Regions from separate parts of the Homo sapiens genome. Here all the other regions are linked to region 3. Evidence: promoter capture Hi-C in human tissues and cell types (Jung and others, 2019). All regions are on one chromosome and are shown on one strand. The core of a region is centred on a gene start or on the middle of the fragment in contact, and the rest is flanking DNA. Distances in the headings are between cores, read along the strand shown. Region 1 overlaps DUSP15 (dual specificity phosphatase 15). Region 2 overlaps C20orf203 (chromosome 20 open reading frame 203). Region 3 holds the start of PLAGL2 (PLAG1 like zinc finger 2). Region 4 overlaps NOL4L (nucleolar protein 4 like). Region 5 holds the start of MYLK2 (myosin light chain kinase 2). Region 6 holds the start of FOXS1 (forkhead box S1).

The links. Contacts are between HindIII fragments. The study calls those that stand out against the background at their distance.
Region 1: a contact is called between a fragment that was not itself captured here and the fragment with the promoter of PLAGL2 in region 3, in 1 of the 25 tissues and cell types used here (spleen).
Region 2: a fragment that was not itself captured here is called in contact with the fragment with the promoter of PLAGL2 in region 3 in 1 of the 25 tissues and cell types used here (small bowel).
Region 4: a contact is called between a fragment that was not itself captured here and the fragment with the promoter of PLAGL2 in region 3, in 3 of the 25 tissues and cell types used here (dorsolateral prefrontal cortex, lymphoblastoid cells and mesenchymal stem cells).
Region 5: the fragment with the promoter of MYLK2 here is called in contact with the fragment with the promoter of PLAGL2 in region 3 in 1 of the 25 tissues and cell types used here (lymphoblastoid cells).
Region 6: the fragment with the promoter of FOXS1 here is called in contact with the fragment with the promoter of PLAGL2 in region 3 in 1 of the 25 tissues and cell types used here (lymphoblastoid cells).

Annotation. Positions count from the first base shown.
Region 1 is chr20:31,863,904-31,866,661 of GRCh38, forward strand. DUSP15 (dual specificity phosphatase 15) reads right to left here. Exons shown (of 7, transcript NM_080611.5): 4 at 1,050-1,099; 5 at 4-78. Among named protein-coding and RNA genes, the nearest start is that of DUSP15, 5.2 kb to the right of the region's middle. The HindIII fragment of the contact is 6,921 bases long and covers 1-2,758 here.
Region 2 is chr20:32,651,660-32,654,425 of GRCh38, forward strand. C20orf203 (chromosome 20 open reading frame 203) reads right to left here. Exons shown (of 6, transcript NM_182584.4): 2 at 74-322. Among named protein-coding and RNA genes, the nearest start is that of C20orf203, 21 kb to the right of the region's middle. RefSeq lists an enhancer at 1,075-1,124 and a silencer at 1,415-1,514. The HindIII fragment of the contact is 8,874 bases long and covers 1-2,766 here.
Region 3 is chr20:32,206,339-32,209,089 of GRCh38, forward strand. PLAGL2 (PLAG1 like zinc finger 2) reads right to left here and starts at 1,405. Exons shown (of 3, transcript NM_002657.3): 1 at 1,303-1,405. POFUT1 (protein O-fucosyltransferase 1) reads left to right here and starts at 1,542. Exons shown (of 7, transcript NM_015352.2): 1 at 1,542-1,727. The coding sequence starts at 1,604. RefSeq lists a silencer at 1,192-1,611 and enhancers at 1,376-2,289, 1,752-1,881. The HindIII fragment of the contact is 8,119 bases long and covers 1-2,751 here.
Region 4 is chr20:32,497,979-32,500,678 of GRCh38, forward strand. All of the region lies in intron 4 of NOL4L (nucleolar protein 4 like), which reads right to left. Among named protein-coding and RNA genes, the nearest start is that of NOL4L-AS1, 62 kb to the right of the region's middle. The HindIII fragment of the contact is 3,583 bases long and covers 1-2,700 here.
Region 5 is chr20:31,818,056-31,821,014 of GRCh38, forward strand. MYLK2 (myosin light chain kinase 2) reads left to right here and starts at 1,301. Exons shown (of 13, transcript NM_033118.4): 1 at 1,301-1,373; 2 at 1,478-1,577; 3 at 2,071-2,491. The coding sequence starts at 1,526. RefSeq lists an enhancer at 1,785-2,326. The HindIII fragment of the contact is 11,029 bases long and covers 1-2,959 here.
Region 6 is chr20:31,844,229-31,847,066 of GRCh38, forward strand. FOXS1 (forkhead box S1) reads right to left here and starts at 1,376. Exons shown (of 1, transcript NM_004118.4): 1 at 75-1,376. The coding sequence starts at 1,314. The coding sequence ends at 322. It also overlaps a transcript of DUSP15 not described here. RefSeq lists an enhancer at 760-1,317. The HindIII fragment of the contact is 12,044 bases long and covers 1-2,838 here.

The DNA of each region.
Region 1 (2,758 bases), core at 49-2,548, 340 kb before region 3:
CACCAGTGCACAAGGCAGTTCCCCCCATTAAGGCGGCAGCAGTGGATGAAGTTGATACATTCTTTGAAGTGCTTTTTGCTAGAGGAGAAAGCAATAGGGTAGGGAGCACTGCAGGGCAGACCTCTCAGGAGTTGTTCCGCCCCCACCCCAATTACAGGATAGCAAGGGACATAGAGCCCTGGGGTCCCCAGGTCAGCCAGCACATGCAGTGAATATGGGCCAGTACTTAGTATGAGCTGGAGGTGTGTTTGTGTGAAGCAAGAATGGTGGCATTTCAGGCAGTGAGAGAGACCAGTCAGGACAAATCTCACCATCTAGGCAGGAGCACTCCTCCTGTGGACCCTGTTTTCATGTTGGGTTTATTGTGGCCTTTCAGAGAAATGGGTGGGAGGAAACACAGGGGTCCCACTCCTCTGGGGTCTGCAATCAGAGCACCTGGGCACAATGATGGGCAGCAGCAGGCTGGGAGCAAGATTCCCAAGGGGCAGCACTGTCTGCTTGGCTCCATCCCAAGCGGGGAGGCACTACTGCTGATGCCACAAACAAAAATCCCGTTTTCTGAGCTCAGTTATACTCCAGGCCCTATCCTAGATCCTTGACCTGTGTCATCTGATCTTCGAAAGCCTCCTTGACTCTGATCATGCACTCCTGATTTACAGGTGAGGCCCAGAGCGGGGAAGTGATTTGTTCAAGGTCACACAGCAAGTAAATGGCAGAGCCTGGCCGGAACTCAGATGTCTTAACCCCAAGGCCAGGAACAGGCTGAATATGACCCTTTCAAATCAGCTGGTGTAGCTGGTCCCAAGGTACAGAGTGTCCTTTTCCCATTTCATAGCTGATGAGACTGAGGCTCGGGGAGGTGGAGAGTCTTGGCCAAGGGCCTATCACAAGGGCATGGTTGAGACAGAGTCAAACCTGGGACTGGTTGAGTTGAACACCTGTGATAGCTCTCTGGCCTGAGTACTTTGTCCTCCTTCAAACCCCCTCCCCCTCCCCCACCACAGAAGGCAGCTGTCTGTCCATCTATGGGTCCATCCAGGGGAACTTACATGGGTACCTCAGGGGTATCAGCGACCGGGATGCGAAGGTAGGTGATATCCTGCAAGTACAAAATACACTCAGGCAGGGGACCTTGCCTGCAACCCTCCCTGATGCTGGTCCGAGCTGCCCAGGCAGGGCATAACCCCAGCCCAGTTCCTGCCCTTCTCTGGCCCACTGTGGTCCTCTCTGTCCAAAGAAAGTAGTTGTCATCTCTGAGGCCTCCCAGCTGTGACCACTTGTGATTCCTGAACCTTCTAAGCACATGGTGTCTCCTAACCCCATCAGCGGCGTGGGCATGACGTCACCTATCCCTCCCAACAGGGACCCAGGAACCTTTATCAAGTAGCTAGGAAAGGGCTACTTAAAGGGACTCCACTCCAAATGGGAATTACAAAATTACATCGTAAAAAAGGTAGAGCAGATTTGATTATCTTGAAAAGAAACAAAAATCATGAAAACAAGTATACATTTCAGGAATCATGGTTATAAAATGATGTGCTGATTATGAGAATAATCAAGGAATAAATTGTCAGGAATTTTTTCCAGCAAACTTGCTGTGATGTCCTTTGTTTCCTGATTAGCCACACAATATCATGAAGATTATTTTTGCCCGCCTCCTGAGGACCTCCTTGCTTTTCTCGAGAAACTGTCTTAACATTTTTATATTCAAATGGCTCTTTTCAGGGGCCAGGCCCGTCACTGGCAGTAACTAAGGGACCACCAGCCAGGTTCTCATTTGTCCATGGCTTTGTGTGAGATTCCAGCCCTTCTCTCACTCACATTCCCCAAGGTCATGACATCCTGCATCTTTGGCAAGGTTTGCAATTTCACTTTGCAACACATTTGGCCTTGGGTTTGTGTGGTACTATCAAACCCTGCCTGGTAAATTTGCTGATGGAGGGGGGAAGGAGAGATGCTTGGGAGAAGCAGGAAGGGCCGTAGGAGCAGAGACTCATTGTGTAGGCTGTCATTTCATTAGTAAATACACTCATGACTTGACAACCTTCCCCATGCACTCTAGTGACTGTTTACTCCAAATACTCCCAAACGAGGCTGCCCTATGAGGCAAAATAAGACTGCAATGGCCTGGAAATTTCTTCTCTGAATGACATTGAAAATCATAGATTATTAGAGGTTGCTGTTAGAGAATATCAAATCTGACATATGGGAAAACTGAGGCCTAGAGAAGGGAAGGACCTTGGCCAAGATCACACAGCAAGTCTATGGCAGAACCGGGTCTTCATTTCAGATCTCCAGGACCTTTTCCCACCCATGGTTCTTTCTCTCCAGTGGATGATACAGACTCTAATAGATAAGGGTGAAGAGGCTCTGTTTATGGGATAAGAATATGATTAAATTTGTTATAGTATCAGTTGTGATTTGTTGAGCATCTATTTATGTGGTTCCCAACCACTCAGTGAAGTGGGTACTGTTATAAAGTTCCCGTTTTACAGATCAGGCAACTGAGGCTCAGAGGGGGCAAAGTCCTGTCCCCAAGGTCATAGAGCAAATAAACAGTGAAGATGTTCCTGACATAAGCACGTGTAGTCTGGATTTATTACTTTCCTCTGCTGGGTCCTAACACCCTCATGCCCCTTTCCCAGGACTTGATAATACCAGCACCAACCGCCCTAGAGGGGACCATGCTTTACAGTGTGCAAAGCATCTTCACCATCCTGCAGTCCCTTTGCATCCTCACAGCAGCCTTCTGGGGGCA
Region 2 (2,766 bases), core at 37-2,536, 450 kb after region 3:
TAGCCAGCCACTGCCATCTGAAAGGTCTGGGGAACTGGGGGGTGACCTGGCACCTAGCCTGTCCGAGTCTTACCTCTTCATGTGGCAGCTGCAGTCTGGCACTCTGAGGAGGAGGATTAGAGAGCTTAAGTGACTTCTGCAAAGCCACACCACTACGGAAGAGGAAGAGGCAGCCTTGGATCCCTTGAGTGAGGAGAGGATGGGACCTGGATTCCTATGTTGACATTTGTTGAGCATCTACTGGATGCAGGGTCCTGAACAAGACCCCAGGAAGGGACTAAGATGAATCTGAGATTCACTCTGCCTTTAAGGGGACCCCAGTCTGGAAGGAGAGAGAAAACACACATACAAATAACTAGAATGCAAAGCAAATGTGGCTGGATGCAGTGGCTCACACCTGTCACTTTGGGAGGCTTAGGCAGGAGGATCACTTGAGATCAGGAGTTCGAGACCAGCCTGGCCAACACAACAAAACCTCGTCTCTACTAAAAATACAAAAATTAGCTGGGTGTGGTGGTGCACGCCTGTAGTACCAACTACTTGGGAGACTGAGGCACGAGAATCACTTGAACCTGGTGGGGCAGAGGTTACAGTGAACTGAGATCGTGCCAGTGAGCTGAGATCATGCACTTCAGCCTGGGCGACAGAGCAAGACTCCATCTCAAAAAAAAAAAAAAAAAAAAAAAAAAGCAAATACCCCTGGCATCAGAGGGGGCCCAGCAGCCCTCCATGCAAAGGGGCTGGGGTGAGACTCTTGGGATGGCGGGGAGATGCTGCTGTGTCTTGGAGCTCAATTTGCAAGGCAAAGGTTTTGATTTTATTTGAACGATAAAATCAGCCCTGGGGGTCATGGGGGTGCTGATGGAGCCTCCTCTGGCTTTTTTGGGAAGTTCTGGGTGGTCCCTGACCTCTGTGATTCCTGCTTCGAAGGTTCTGGGATCTATCCTGGAGGTATCTAGGAGTCCCGGATGCTGTGGTTTTTGGAGACTACACTGTCCAGACCCCCAGCATGAATACATTCACGTCCACAAAAAACAGTGAGGGCCCCCTTCCAGGTAGCCAGACACGCACCAGTTTGGGGGGCTTCCTGCTGCTGGGCAATTTGGTGGGGAGAGGATGCAGCACCAGTGAGAGGCCCTCTCAGAGATGGTGGAAGCCTCTCAAGGCTGAGAGATGCAAGGCTGCTGGCCCCGATGTTGCAAAGCCTGAGCCTCAGGCGGCAACCCAAAGCGGGCAGGGTGAGTGCTAGGTCACTGGCCTTGGGGATGGTGCCTCCGTCACTCCCTTCCTGGAGATCAGAGCTCAGCCAGAGGAGCGGGCTGGTCTAGCCACAGGAAGTCTGTGCAAGCACAGCCAGCAGCTCCTGGAAAATAGGCGCTGCTCTCAGCCTCCCCAGGGCACCCTGCACCCAAGCTGGGCCAAATGATGGTCTGGGGCGCCCTCTGGTGGCTCCTCTGGGCAGTGGTGGATGCTGAAGCCACTGTGAATTTAAGGGTGGGTGGGGCAGAGATGGTCAGAGTTGGAAGATTTCAAGGTGGACCACTCTTTCCACTACACAGATGGGAAAACCAAGGCCCAGAGGGAAGTGACCTGCCTACAGTTGCACAGCCAGTGACTAATACAAGAACAGAACCCAGAAGTTCCTCTGTACCAATGCTTTTTTTTAGGGGGTCTCAAGACATCCCACCCTAGGGGAGGGAAGGCTGAGTGTCCAGGGCTCACTCCCAGTGCATATGGACAGCTGAACTGTAGGTCGCTGAGTATCTGTGTGACATAGCATGCAGCACTTCCCTCCCAGGCTTGGTTCTTTGCCTCTAAAGCCTGGGGTTACTGTGTTGGCAAGGGATGGGGGACTAGGCCTCCTGCTTGCACACTGCTAGAACTGAGGGTGTAAACCAGCCAATCTTTCGGGGAGTTCTAAGAAGAGTGTTCCTACAGCTGGTATCATACTTCATGGTGAGAGATTGGGTGCTTTCCCCAAGACCAGGAACAAGACAAGGATGTCCACTCTTACGGCAAAGTTGAATTCACGACTTGTATTCAACACTGTACTGGGTACAATGGCAAGAAAATAAAGTCATCCAGATTGCAAAAGAAGAAGTAAAACTATCCCTACTTGCAGATGACATGATCTTATATATAGAAAATCTTGGTTGGGAGCAGTGGCTCATGCCTGTAATCTCAGCACTTTGGGAGGCCAAGGCAGGTGGATCACCTAAGGTCAGGAGTTTAAGACCAGCCTGGCCAGCAAGGCAAAACCATGTCTCCACTAAAAATACAAAAATTAGCCAGGCGTGGTGGTGTGTGCCTGTAACCCCAGCTACTCAGGAGGCTGAAGCACAAGAATTGCTTGAACTTGGGGTGCAGAGTTTGCAGTGAGCCAAGATCACGCCACTGCACTCCAGCCTGGGTGATGGAGCGAAAAAAAAAAAAAGAGAAAATCCTAAAGAATCCACTAAAAAAAAGTTATAACTAATAATTGGGTTTGGCAAAGTTGCAGGATACAAGATCAATATACAAAAATCAATTGAGCTTCTACACATTTGCAATGAACACTTCAAAAATGTAATTATGAAAATAATTCAATTTATACTAGCATCAAAGAGAATAAAATGCTTAGGAATAAAAGAAGTACAAAACTTATAATCTGAAAACTACAAAACATTGTTTAAAGAAATTAAAGATGCCATAAATAAATGGAAAAATACCAATGTTCATAGATCTAAAGACCCAATACCATTAAGATGGCAAGACTCCCCAAATTGA
Region 3 (2,751 bases), core at 155-2,654:
CATCAAACAGGATTAACAGGGGTTGGATTTACTCTCAGGCTGCTAATTCTTCTGTCAGTGTAGATGGGCCCTCTTTGGAGTCTCTTTGATTCACTATTTCCTCAGATTCCTGCTGCCTCCCACTCCTGGGGAGGCCTTGAACAAATGGCTGCAACTCATCACAACCCCATTTTCATGGGGAGAAAACGTGATTCGACACCCCCGCTCCCAATCTGGTGGCCTCACCTTAGGAGAGAAAGGTTAGAAACCCAAGACCAGACTCTACACACAGTCCCATGGCTGACAGGTGGAAAAACACACAAGCCAGGAGACAGGCTAAGCTTGCAGGTGAAAGCACCGATTCCCCCACACAGGTGTCCCCATATCCTCCACCTAACAGGCCCCTTTCTCCCCACCAAGGTGGGCCACAGCCTGGTCCCAGGCCAACTTTTAGATCACCCCACTGTGGTGTGGGAAAGGTTCAATTCCCCGAGCCTGGGAGAGATGGGAGTGGATGAGGGCTGGAGAAGCAAAGGAAATCCAGGGAGAAGTCTGGAGGGAGTCTCTGGGATGGGAAGGAAGAGCGAGGATGGGAAGGAATCATGAGCAACTTTCCTGGGTCTCTAAGGGATCCCCACAAGAATGAAATGGGGGATTATAAGGGCTGGAAGGCTGGGGGGATGGGGATAGTCAGAAGTGTATCCTCTGAATTTCAAGAGGGTCTCAAAATGGGTAACGGGATGGAAGATGTCGAAAGCCTGGGAGTATGGCCACTGAGGAGGGAACTACAGGTGGGGCTTATTCGACTTCTCCAGACCCAGATATTTGAGGGAAGCCTCAAAGGGAGTTATGTAAGTCTGGAAAATGAAACAGGGTACAGAGCGGGCTATCTGGAGCAGGAAAGGGGGTTATGTGGGTCTGGGTAGGCGTGTCGGAGGGAGGGAGCAGGTGCAGCTTATCTGCGTCCCCCAGACCCGGGTCCCTGGTAAGGTCAGCAGCGCCTTATCTGGGTCTCCAGGGAGCCTAGGGGTCGGGAATGGGGGACCCTCAGGACTGCGTCTCCAGGTCTCGGAAGGGAGGGGACCGGTGGCTTCCTCGGGTCCCCCAGACACAGGTATGGGGTCCAGGGAGAGTTTTCGTCACCCCAGGGCCTATCTGGGGCCGGGTTGGCGCAGACCGGGCCCCGGGTCGGGGGTGTGGGCGACCGCGCTGAGGGGCCCGAGATGAGGCGCGCCGCCGCTCCGGGTACAGGGCGCGCGGACGCAGCGAGACGGCCTCCCGCCCCTCTCCCCGCCGTCCCCTGGGGCCCTCGCCGGCACTCACCGCGCTCGGGGCCCCACGCTGCGGGCCGGGCCGCGCTCGGGCTCCGCCAGGCCCCCTCAGGCCCCGGTAGTGGCGGCGGTCGGGCCATTGTGCGGTGCATTGTGGGAGCCGCGCGAGCGGGCGCTCGGGTCGTGGAGGGGGCGGTGCCGCGGGATCTCTATGGTCCCGCCCGCCCGCGGGCTAGAGCGGCCGGGGCGGTGCGCGGGCGGCGCGCAGGGACCGCTGGGAGCGGGGCGGGCGCTCGCGTCCCTCCTTCCCTCCCCGACTGTGCGCCGCGGCTGGCTCGGGTTCCCGGGCCGACATGGGCGCCGCCGCGTGGGCACGGCCGCTGAGCGTGTCTTTCCTGCTGCTGCTTCTGCCGCTCCCGGGGATGCCTGCGGGCTCCTGGGACCCGGCCGGTTACCTGCTCTACTGCCCCTGCATGGGTAAGGCCTCCCAAGCCCTCTGCTCAGATGGAGAAACTGAGGCCGGGAGAGGAAAAGCCACTCCTCAGATGCGCCCAGAGACACCTTCACAGGTCCAGGAGAGAACCTCAGAGCGGGACGGGGCATGCTCTTCTCCTCTCTGCCTTAGTTGCAAGGGCACAGAGGGGCCAACGTGTCCAACTTTCCATTTGACAGATGAGAAAACTGAGGCTGGGAGAGGTTACGTGACTTGCTTGAGGTCTAAGCCAGTCCAGGGTCCAGTAAATGGAGTTAGTGGGGCAGGACTTGATGTCACTGACCCACGCTGGCTCCTGGTGATTTTTCATTGATTCAGCAAATATTTATGGGGCACCTATTCTGTGCCGGGCCCTGTTCTCTGTACTGGGAATACCGCAGTGAATAAGATAAACTCCGTGTCCTTGTAGAGCCTTCATTTTAGTTGGGGAAGACAAACAATTGAGAATAAGTAGGCCAGGCGCGGTGGCTCACTTCTGTAATCCCACCACTTTGAGAGACCGAGGCAGGATCACTTGAAGCCAGGAGCTCGAGATCAGCCTAGGCAACATAGTGAAAATCCAATCTCAAAAAAAAAAAAAAAAAAAAAAAGCAGAGCGTGGTATCGTGTGCTTGTAGTCCCTTGGGAGTTATCTGGGCGGCTACTTGGGAGGCTGAGGTGGGAGGATCTCTTGAGCCGAGGAATTCGAGGCTGCAGTGAGCTCTGATCGTGCCACCGCACTGCCAGCCTGGGTGACAGAGTGAGACCCTGTCTCGAAACAAGCAAACCCAAAAAGGGGTAAACATAAAACAATAAATACATAGTTTCATAGAGGATGATGAATACTAAGGGAAAATAAAGAGAGCAGGGTAGGGGAGAATCTAAAGACCATGCCAGGTGCACAGTTGAAATGGGTATGGTGGATCATCATTGTGGAAGTGGATGATCTTAAGGCCCCCAGTGGCTTCCAGACTCCTGACCATGACTTTCAGGGCCCTGAATGATGTGGCCTCCACTGGCCATCTCCAC
Region 4 (2,700 bases), core at 65-2,564, 290 kb after region 3:
AAATTACGAGTGCTTCCTGCATTTTTTCCCCCAGATAATAAAGTTGAAAGGCCACCTTGGCATTCTCGCATTTGTAGGGGTGGAGGTCTGCAGCCCGGAAGGGGCTCGAGCCTCAAGGAGCTGCTGGGGACAATGAGCTGTTCAGGTTCGGGGTATCTGCCAACCCCACCAGACACTGGCTCTCCAGACAGGGTGGTGGCTGTTTTCCACTTTCCCACACAGCTTCAGGGAAGTGAGAGGAAAGAAAAGACACAGACCTCTCCCAGCTCAGGTTGCCCTCACAAAACAGAGGAAATGCTCATTTTCTGTGAGAATTTGGAAATTGTAGTAAGTTTCTAGAAAGCACCCCAGGATGTTCAAGAACATATACTGATTGCAAAAATAATGTCCCATAACAAAAGATGTTTGACAATGAGCTTTTCACGCCTCTCTCTGTTCTCTTAAAAAAAAAAAAAGCTTTCTGATAAATCATTCCCTCTCAAGTTTAGAAATGCCCTATTTTCACAGGGCATGGTGGCTCATGCCTGTCATTCCAGCACTTTAGGAGGCCAAAGTGGGAGGATCGCTTGAGCCCAGGAGTTCAAGACCAGCCTGGGCAACACGTGAAGCCCCATCTCTATAAAAAGTGCAAAAAATTAGCCAGGTGTGGTGGTGTGTGCCTGTAGTTCCAGCTACTCGGGAGGCTGAGGTGGGAGGATCACTAGAGCCTGGGAAGTCGAGGCTGCATTGAGCTGTGATTGCACCACTGCACTCTACCCTGGGCAACGGGAGTGAGACCCTGTCTCAATAAAAAAAAAAAAAAAAAAAAAGAAATGCACTATTTTCTTTGGGAGGCCCAGAAGTTCAAGATCAGCCTGGGCAACAAAGTGAAGCACTGTTTCTACTTAAAAAATTTTTGTGTTTGTTTGTTTTTGAGGCAGAGTCTTGGTCTTGCTCTGTTGCCTAGGCTGGAGTGCAGTGGTGCAATCTCAGCTCACTGCAACCTCTGCTTCCCAGGTTCAAGTGATTCTCCTGCCTCAACCTCCTGAGTACCTGGGATTACAGGCTCCTGCCACCACGCCAGCTAATTTTTGTATTTTTAGTAGAGACGGGGCTTCACCATGTTGGTCAGGCTGGTCTCAAACTCCTGGCCTTGTGATCTGCCCACCTTGGCCTCCCAAAGTGCTGGGATTACAGGCGTGAGCCACTGCTCCTGGCCAAAAAAAATTTTTTTTTAAATAAATGCCCTATTTTGCATGATACCATTTTAGGAGGATGGGGAATGCTGTGCTGTCCATGTTTAGAGCCCCCCGATCCTGACACTGGGCTCATGGTGCTCCTGGTTCTCAGTCCACCTCTGTTTGTCAGTGAACAAAGAGGCCTGGGATAAAGTGTCTTCACATAATGCTCATGTGGTCAGATCAGTGGTGCTGCTGCAGTATTTTTCCTCCACCAAAAAGCGGATACAAACATTTTTAGGCATTAAAGAAACAATTTTTGGCTGGGTGTGGTGGCTCATGCCTGTAATCCCAGCACTTTGGGAGGCTGAGGCAGGCAGATCACTTGAGGCCAGGAGTTTCAGACCAGCTTGGCCAACATGGTGAAACCCCATCTCTACTAAAAATGCAAAAATTAGCCGGGCATGGTGGCAGGCATCTGTAGTCCCAGCTACTCAGTCAGCTGAGGCAGGAGAATTGCTTGAACCTGGGCAGCGGAGGTTGTAGTGAGCCAAGATTTTGCGACTGCACTCTAGCCTGGGCAACAGAGGGAGACCTTGTCTCAAAAAAAAAAAAAAAAAAAAAAGGAACAATTATTTTTTTCAAAGTAATGCCTTTTTTCAAGCCAGCAAAACTTTTAAAAAGAAAGCCAACAAAAGAGGAACAATTCCTACTAGATATTAAAACATATGATAAAGTTTTCACACTTAAAACAGTTTGGTAGCTGCTACATGAATAGTCAAGGAGCCCAGTGGACCAAACAGAAGTAGATTCTGTTTTGGATGGAAACTTAGTAAGTTTTAAAGGTGTCATCTCAAATCAGTGGGGGAAAATGGAGTATTTAACAAATGATGCTGAGACAAAAGGGTTAAGCGGAATCTGTATCTCAGAATACGTCAGCATAAGCTCCAAATGGATCAAAGATTAAATATAAAAAATGAAAATAAAAACATGTATGCTTTTTGCTCTGTCAGCTGGAAGAGCCTGCAAGAAAGGATACTTCAGTACCAATGGGCACACATAGTGCCCAGATCTTGTTTTTTTGTTTTGTTTTATACAAAATATATAGAGATGAGGTTTGCCCAGGCTGGTCTTGAACTCCTGAACTCAAGAGACCCTTCTGCCTTGGCCTCCCAAAGTGTTGGGATAATGGGTGTAAGCCACCATGCCCAGCCAGATTTTTTTTTTTTTTTTTTTGAGACGGAGTCTTGCTTTCTTGCCCAGGCTGGAGTGCAGTGGCACAATCTCGGCTCATTGCAAGCTCCGCCTCCCGGGTTCATGCCATTCTTCTGCCTCAGCCTCCCAAGTAGCTGGGAGTACAGGCGCCTGCCACCACGCCCAGCTAATTTTTTTGTATTTCTTTCTTTTTTTTTTTTTTTTTTACTAGAGACATGGTTTCATCGTGTTAGCCAGGATGGTCTCGATCCGATATTTTGGTTTTTAATATGGTTTTCCAATAAAAGGAATCAGAGCTCCTTGGAGAAATCACTGATTCCAGGATTGG
Region 5 (2,959 bases), core at 51-2,550, 390 kb before region 3:
TTATTCTCCCTTTTTTTTTTGCACAAATGGATAGCACACTCTACATGCTACTTTGCATCTTGCTTTTTTTATTCCCCCCACTTTGGTGGTCACTTTTTGTCAGTTCATTAACAGCTTCCTCAATCTTTTTTTACAGGTTCCTATTTCCCCACTGCTTAGAGGGGCTGCATTCTCCCTCCTTTCTCTCATCAAGCGTTTTTCCAATGGCTTCCCATTTGACAGAGGAGCCGAGGCCATGGAGTGAAGTGACTGGTTTGCTGCAGTCAGGACCTGAACCTGGATAACCACTCTACAGCTACTTCATTTTATCTTACTTTTTAAAATATAAAGACGGGGTCTTGTTATGTTGCCCAGGCCAGTCTCCAACTCCTGGCCTCGAGTGATCCTCCTGCCTCAGCTTCCCAAAGTGTTGGGATTACAGGTGTGAACCACTGCTTCTGGCCTCTACAGCTACTTCTAATGCACCCAGGTCTGGCCAGTTCTCAAGAGCCCCCTCTGAGAAAGGCTCTGGGTGATGGAAGGCTCCTTGGATCATAGCTGTCCTCATCCTATCTCGAACACCTCAGGCTAGAGTGCCCCTCGGGCCACCCCTGTAGTGGAGCATCCTTGAAAAGACTCTCTGCCAGCCCCCTTCTTCCATGTGGGTCATGGGTGAGAACTGGATGAGCTTGGGGGAGGGGCACAGAGCACTCTCCATCTCCCATGGCTACTCAGGGCAGCCTCCGTGTCCCCAGGAGCCCAAGAAAAGGACAGTTTCAAAAGAAAAAGCTTCCAGGCCTATGGACATGTTGAGAAAGTGCCCCCGAGACAATTTCTTACCCAAAGGTGACGCAAGCAGGTCCAGATGTCGAGGCACAGAGCTAGGCACTAGGGTCAGGGAGATTATCCCTGGGACTTTGTGGCTCTAGCCAGGTTCTGGGGAGCCCCAGGAGATGTGGCACACAGGTGGGCAGACCAGGGCTCAGCCTGGGCATACTCTTGCCCTTCAGGCCTGCCTGAGTACTCCCCTTCTTCCAGGCCCCCTCTGATCCTGTCCAAGTCAGGGATACTGAGCAAGGCCTGGGGAAAGGGCTGCTCCCCCAGCGTCCCAGATACCCCTCCCTTTTCTCGCTTGTTCCAACATCATTCTCCCCCCAGTCGGGCCATGGGAAGAATGCCGTGTCCTCTGAACTGGGGCCAAGAGTGACAGGTGGCGGCAGTCCCAGCTGCATGGCCCCTGGTGTAAGAGATCCTCTCCTCCGTCCCCGCCTCCACTGCCCACACCCCTGCCTCCGCCTCTGCCCACCCGGCCCAATCCCTTACAACTGCCCAGGACTGCTCCTGAGCAGCCGCTGGGAGACAGACGGCAACCAGGTTGCCCCTCTTTGCTCCAGGTACCTCTCTCCCCTCAGTTAGCAGGCCTCGGCTTCCTGTCTCACTGCAGCCAGACGAGAGGGGAAATTGGACAGCCTGACACACTCCACTCTTGTTTCTGCAGCTAGAAAGACTTGAGTTAGACAAGCAGCAGCACACGCCTCCCTACCTCATGGCGACAGAAAATGGAGCAGTTGAGCTGGGAATTCAGAACCCATCAACAGGTGCCAAGCTGGGGCAGGAGATGGAGGGAGGAGCTTGGGAAGGGGGGTTTTGAATCCAGGACTGGGCAGGTTCCTCAGTGGGAGTTCTGTGCCCCAGCCTTGTTTGCATGGTGCACGGGGGACCCAGAAATCAGAGGAATCTCTGGCTAGGGTTGGGCTGGGTCCAGGGCCTGTATGAAGCCCTTCCTGGAGAGACCAGGAAAATGTGAAGCCACCAGGGATGGCTGCTGGGGATGCACCTAAACAGTCAGGGCAAGGATGATGGGGGCCACCAAGGCCCACCCAAAGGGCTGGAAGCCTCCCACAGAGGCCCTCCAAGGTCGTGGCAGCTCATCTCTAGGGGCCATCAAGTGGCCCCAGAGACTCAGTGGGACAAGCATTTGCAAGTTGTTGCCTGGGTGGGAACCTGGGCCCAGAGCTGGTCTCTGCCCAGCCTGGGTGAGAGGGAAGGAAAGGAGGGTGGATCCTGATGGGTGTCTCACCTCCTCTGCAGACAAGGCACCTAAAGGTCCCACAGGTGAAAGACCCCTGGCTGCAGGGAAAGACCCTGGCCCCCCAGACCCAAAGAAAGCTCCGGATCCACCCACCCTGAAGAAAGATGCCAAAGCCCCTGCCTCAGAGAAAGGGGATGGTACCCTGGCCCAACCCTCAACTAGCAGCCAAGGCCCCAAAGGAGAGGGTGACAGGGGCGGGGGGCCCGCGGAGGGCAGTGCTGGGCCCCCGGCAGCCCTGCCCCAGCAGACTGCGACACCTGAGACCAGCGTCAAGAAGCCCAAGGCTGAGCAGGGAGCCTCAGGCAGCCAGGATCCTGGAAAGCCCAGGGTGGGCAAGAAGGCAGCAGAGGGCCAAGCAGCAGCCAGGAGGGGCTCACCTGCCTTTCTGCATAGCCCCAGCTGTCCTGCCATCATCTCCAGGTGAATATCCCCTCCTGGGAGTGGGGAGGGGTCCTGTGGTTCTGTCCCTAGGGGTCCTGCTTAATTCCCTTGTCTTAGGCATGGTTATCATCACATTCAGTGCTGGGGAGTGTAGTTCTGACATTCAGTTTCCTCTGTCCTGTGAATTGCCTCTACCGCCTTGTCCCCTGCAGAAACCAGAACCCTGCCACAATTCATACAAGACTGGAGTAAGAGAGACCCTCAAAGACTGCCTAGGTTGAACATATCTTCTCTAGGCTTCTGGGGTCCGAAGTTCCCCTTACTCCATGGGCTTGGGTCTAGCCAAGGGCAGGGTTGAGATGGCAGGCAGAAAGGCTAAAGGTGTCAGGCAAAAGGCTGTGTATTTCCTAGGACATCCAGTATTTTCCTGTTCTTCTTAATATAATTATTGGTAAGATATGAAAAGATGACTAATAACCAGATTGGAGGATCATTGATAATATTTTC
Region 6 (2,838 bases), core at 126-2,625, 360 kb before region 3:
CCACAGCCACAGCCACCCCCACATACAAGCAGGCACCCTGGCCCTCAGCCCCCAGCCATCAGGCAAGCTGACCCTCATCATCACATGGCTTTATTGGCCCTGAGAGCCACAGAGTAAATCCCAAGAGGCCCTGCTTCCCCTCACCCCCAAGTTTGTCCGGAGGCCCCAGGGGCCTGGCTGAGCACCGCTTCAATCCTGGCTTTCTGTGTGGTTGTCCTTGGCTCACCAGGGCTGGGTCCTTCGAGAGTTCTTCAGGTCCTAGAGCCAGGCTCAGCCCGGAGGGTGAGGGACCTGCAGGGACTGCCCGAGGTGAGGCTGCCTTTACTCAAAGAAGAACATTCCTGGCGTCCGGTATAGGCAGGGGGTCAGCCCCAATGGGTAGCCGGAGCCTCCCTGGACAGGGAAGCCACCTGCAACCCAGGGTTCCTTGTGGTCAGTTGGCAGGGGCAGTGGGGCCCGGAGTGAGCCTGGAGGGGTGGGTGGTGCAGGGGAGGGGGCTGCTGAGGCCAAGAGGTGCTCAAGGCCTGGGTCAGCCCCCATGCAAAAATTCAGTGCCTGCAGCCGACACTGGTAGCTGCTCCCGATGCCTGATTCCGGGGACAAGACGGGCGTAGGGGCCTTATTAAAACTCTCAGCCTCTGAGAAGCCGGCAGGAAAGCCAAACGCTGGGCATGAGGAAGATGAGGTGGCCACGGGGAGCTCCCCTGGGCATGCAGGCTTGGGCGTGGAAATCTCTTTGGGCTCCATGGGTGGCCGAGGCCTGCCATCAGTGGTTGCTGGGCACATACTGGCTGGCATGGCCCCCACCAGACCCCCAAAGCTTAGGCCCTTGGGATCTGGCAGCTCTGGTGGGAATGAGCACTGCCTGCCGGTCGTGGCGTTGGGGACTCCTGGGTCCTGGCTGGTCGCCCTGAGGGGTCCACGGCGTGCCTTGGCGGGGCCCCGGGTGCCCTCAGCACCTGTCTGCCGGGTGAAGCGGCGGCGGCGGCGTAGGAAGCTGCCGTGCTCAAACATGTCGTGGCAGTCAGGGTCCAGCGTCCAGTAGCTGCCCTTGCCTGGCTTGCGGTCATCGCGGGGCACCTTGACAAAGCACTCGTTGAGTGACAGGTTGTGGCGGATGCTGTTCTGCCAGCCGGGCCGGTTGTGGCGGTAGAAGGCGAATCGGCCCATGATGTAGCGGTAGATGCCACTGAGGGTGGCCCGCTGCCCCGGTGAGCTCTGGATGGCCATAGCAATAAGGGCGATGTAGCTGTAGGGAGGCTTGGTTGGCTCAGTTGTGGGGGCGCCAGGCCCGGGCAGAGGCTGCTGCTGCATGCTGGCCGGGCTGCCAGGCTGCTGGGACCTGCTGGGTCAGGCTCAGCTTCCAGGGCTGGCGTCCGGAATAGCCTGCCCAGGCTGGTTAAAAGGTCCACTGGCCCAGCCTCCCAGCCTGGAAAGGCAAAAAGGGGTGGGTCTGCTGAGCCATCCTCCCCTCCTCCCTCGCCCCACTCCCACAAGGCCCAAAAGAGGCGGGCAGGAGAGGCCAGTAGTGGGAAGCCGAGCAGCTGCCAGGGATGAGGAGTTGGGAAGGAAGGGACTGAGACCCTCAGCCCACGTGTGCTGGGTGGTGGTGGCTGGGGAGGGACAGGATGTGAAACTGAGCGGGACAGAGACAAAAACAAAATGAGACAGAGGCAGAAACATATGAAACAGAGACAGGGAAAAAAGAGATAGAGACAGAGAGAGGTAGAGACATCACAAGAGGGAGAAAGAGGGAGAGACAAAGATAAGACAGAGGCAGACACAACGGACAGAGACACCCAGAGCCTCTCAGACACTCACAGAGAGACACACAGACATACACGTACAGACACACAGAGACACACAGACATACACGTACAGACACACAGAGACACACAGACACAGACACACACACAGACACACACACACAGACATAAGCACACACACACATATACACAGAGACAGACACACACAGACACATAGGCATACACACAGACACACACACAAGCACATACACAGACACACAGAGACATACACACACAGAAACACAGAGACACAGACACAGACACACACACACACACACACACACACACACGTAGTATACGGAGAAAGTGAGAATCACTGAGCAGGCAGAAACAAGGAAATCCACAAAGCCAGAGAGAAAGGAGATACTGAGAGACACAGGTGCAAACACAAGGAGTGAAAGGAATGAATAGAGAGAGAGAGAGAGAGAGAGAGAGAGAGAGAGGAGAGAGAGGCAGGGCCTGAGCCCAGTCCCCCTAGAGTGAGAGAAGCCCCAGGGGCTTCTCTAATCCCTACCTCTACTCCTGCTTTTCCCTCTTCTCCCAGGCCTGTGGTCTACTGCCTTCTCCTGCGGTGCAGAGGCCTTGGGGCCACACCACTCCTACCCCATCCTCCTAGCTCTGGGGTGTCTGCAGGGAGGGGCACCTAGGATGGTAAGGAGAGCCCATGAAATTCAGTTCTGCTGCATCCCTGTCGCCCCCTAGTGACTGGTGTGGGAAGGACAGCTATCTGGGGAGAGACATTCTCCCTCCCAAGAGGCACCTCAAGACCTTGGCTGAGCCTCAGTTTCCCCATCTCTAACATGGAGCTGGTGACTCCTCAGCTGTCCAGGCCATGGTGGGGAGGCAACAGGTTCCCCTTACACAGAATGCAGCACCCTCATCAAGAGCCTAGTATGGAGTAGGGATATGAACATGGCTGCGGATTGTCACTCTGAACTGAGGCTACCCCAGCTGCAGCCTGGGGTCGGGAGGTCCAGAGAGTCAGGCCCAGAACAGTCAGGCCTTCTGGAGGAGGGGACGGCATCCTCTCTGC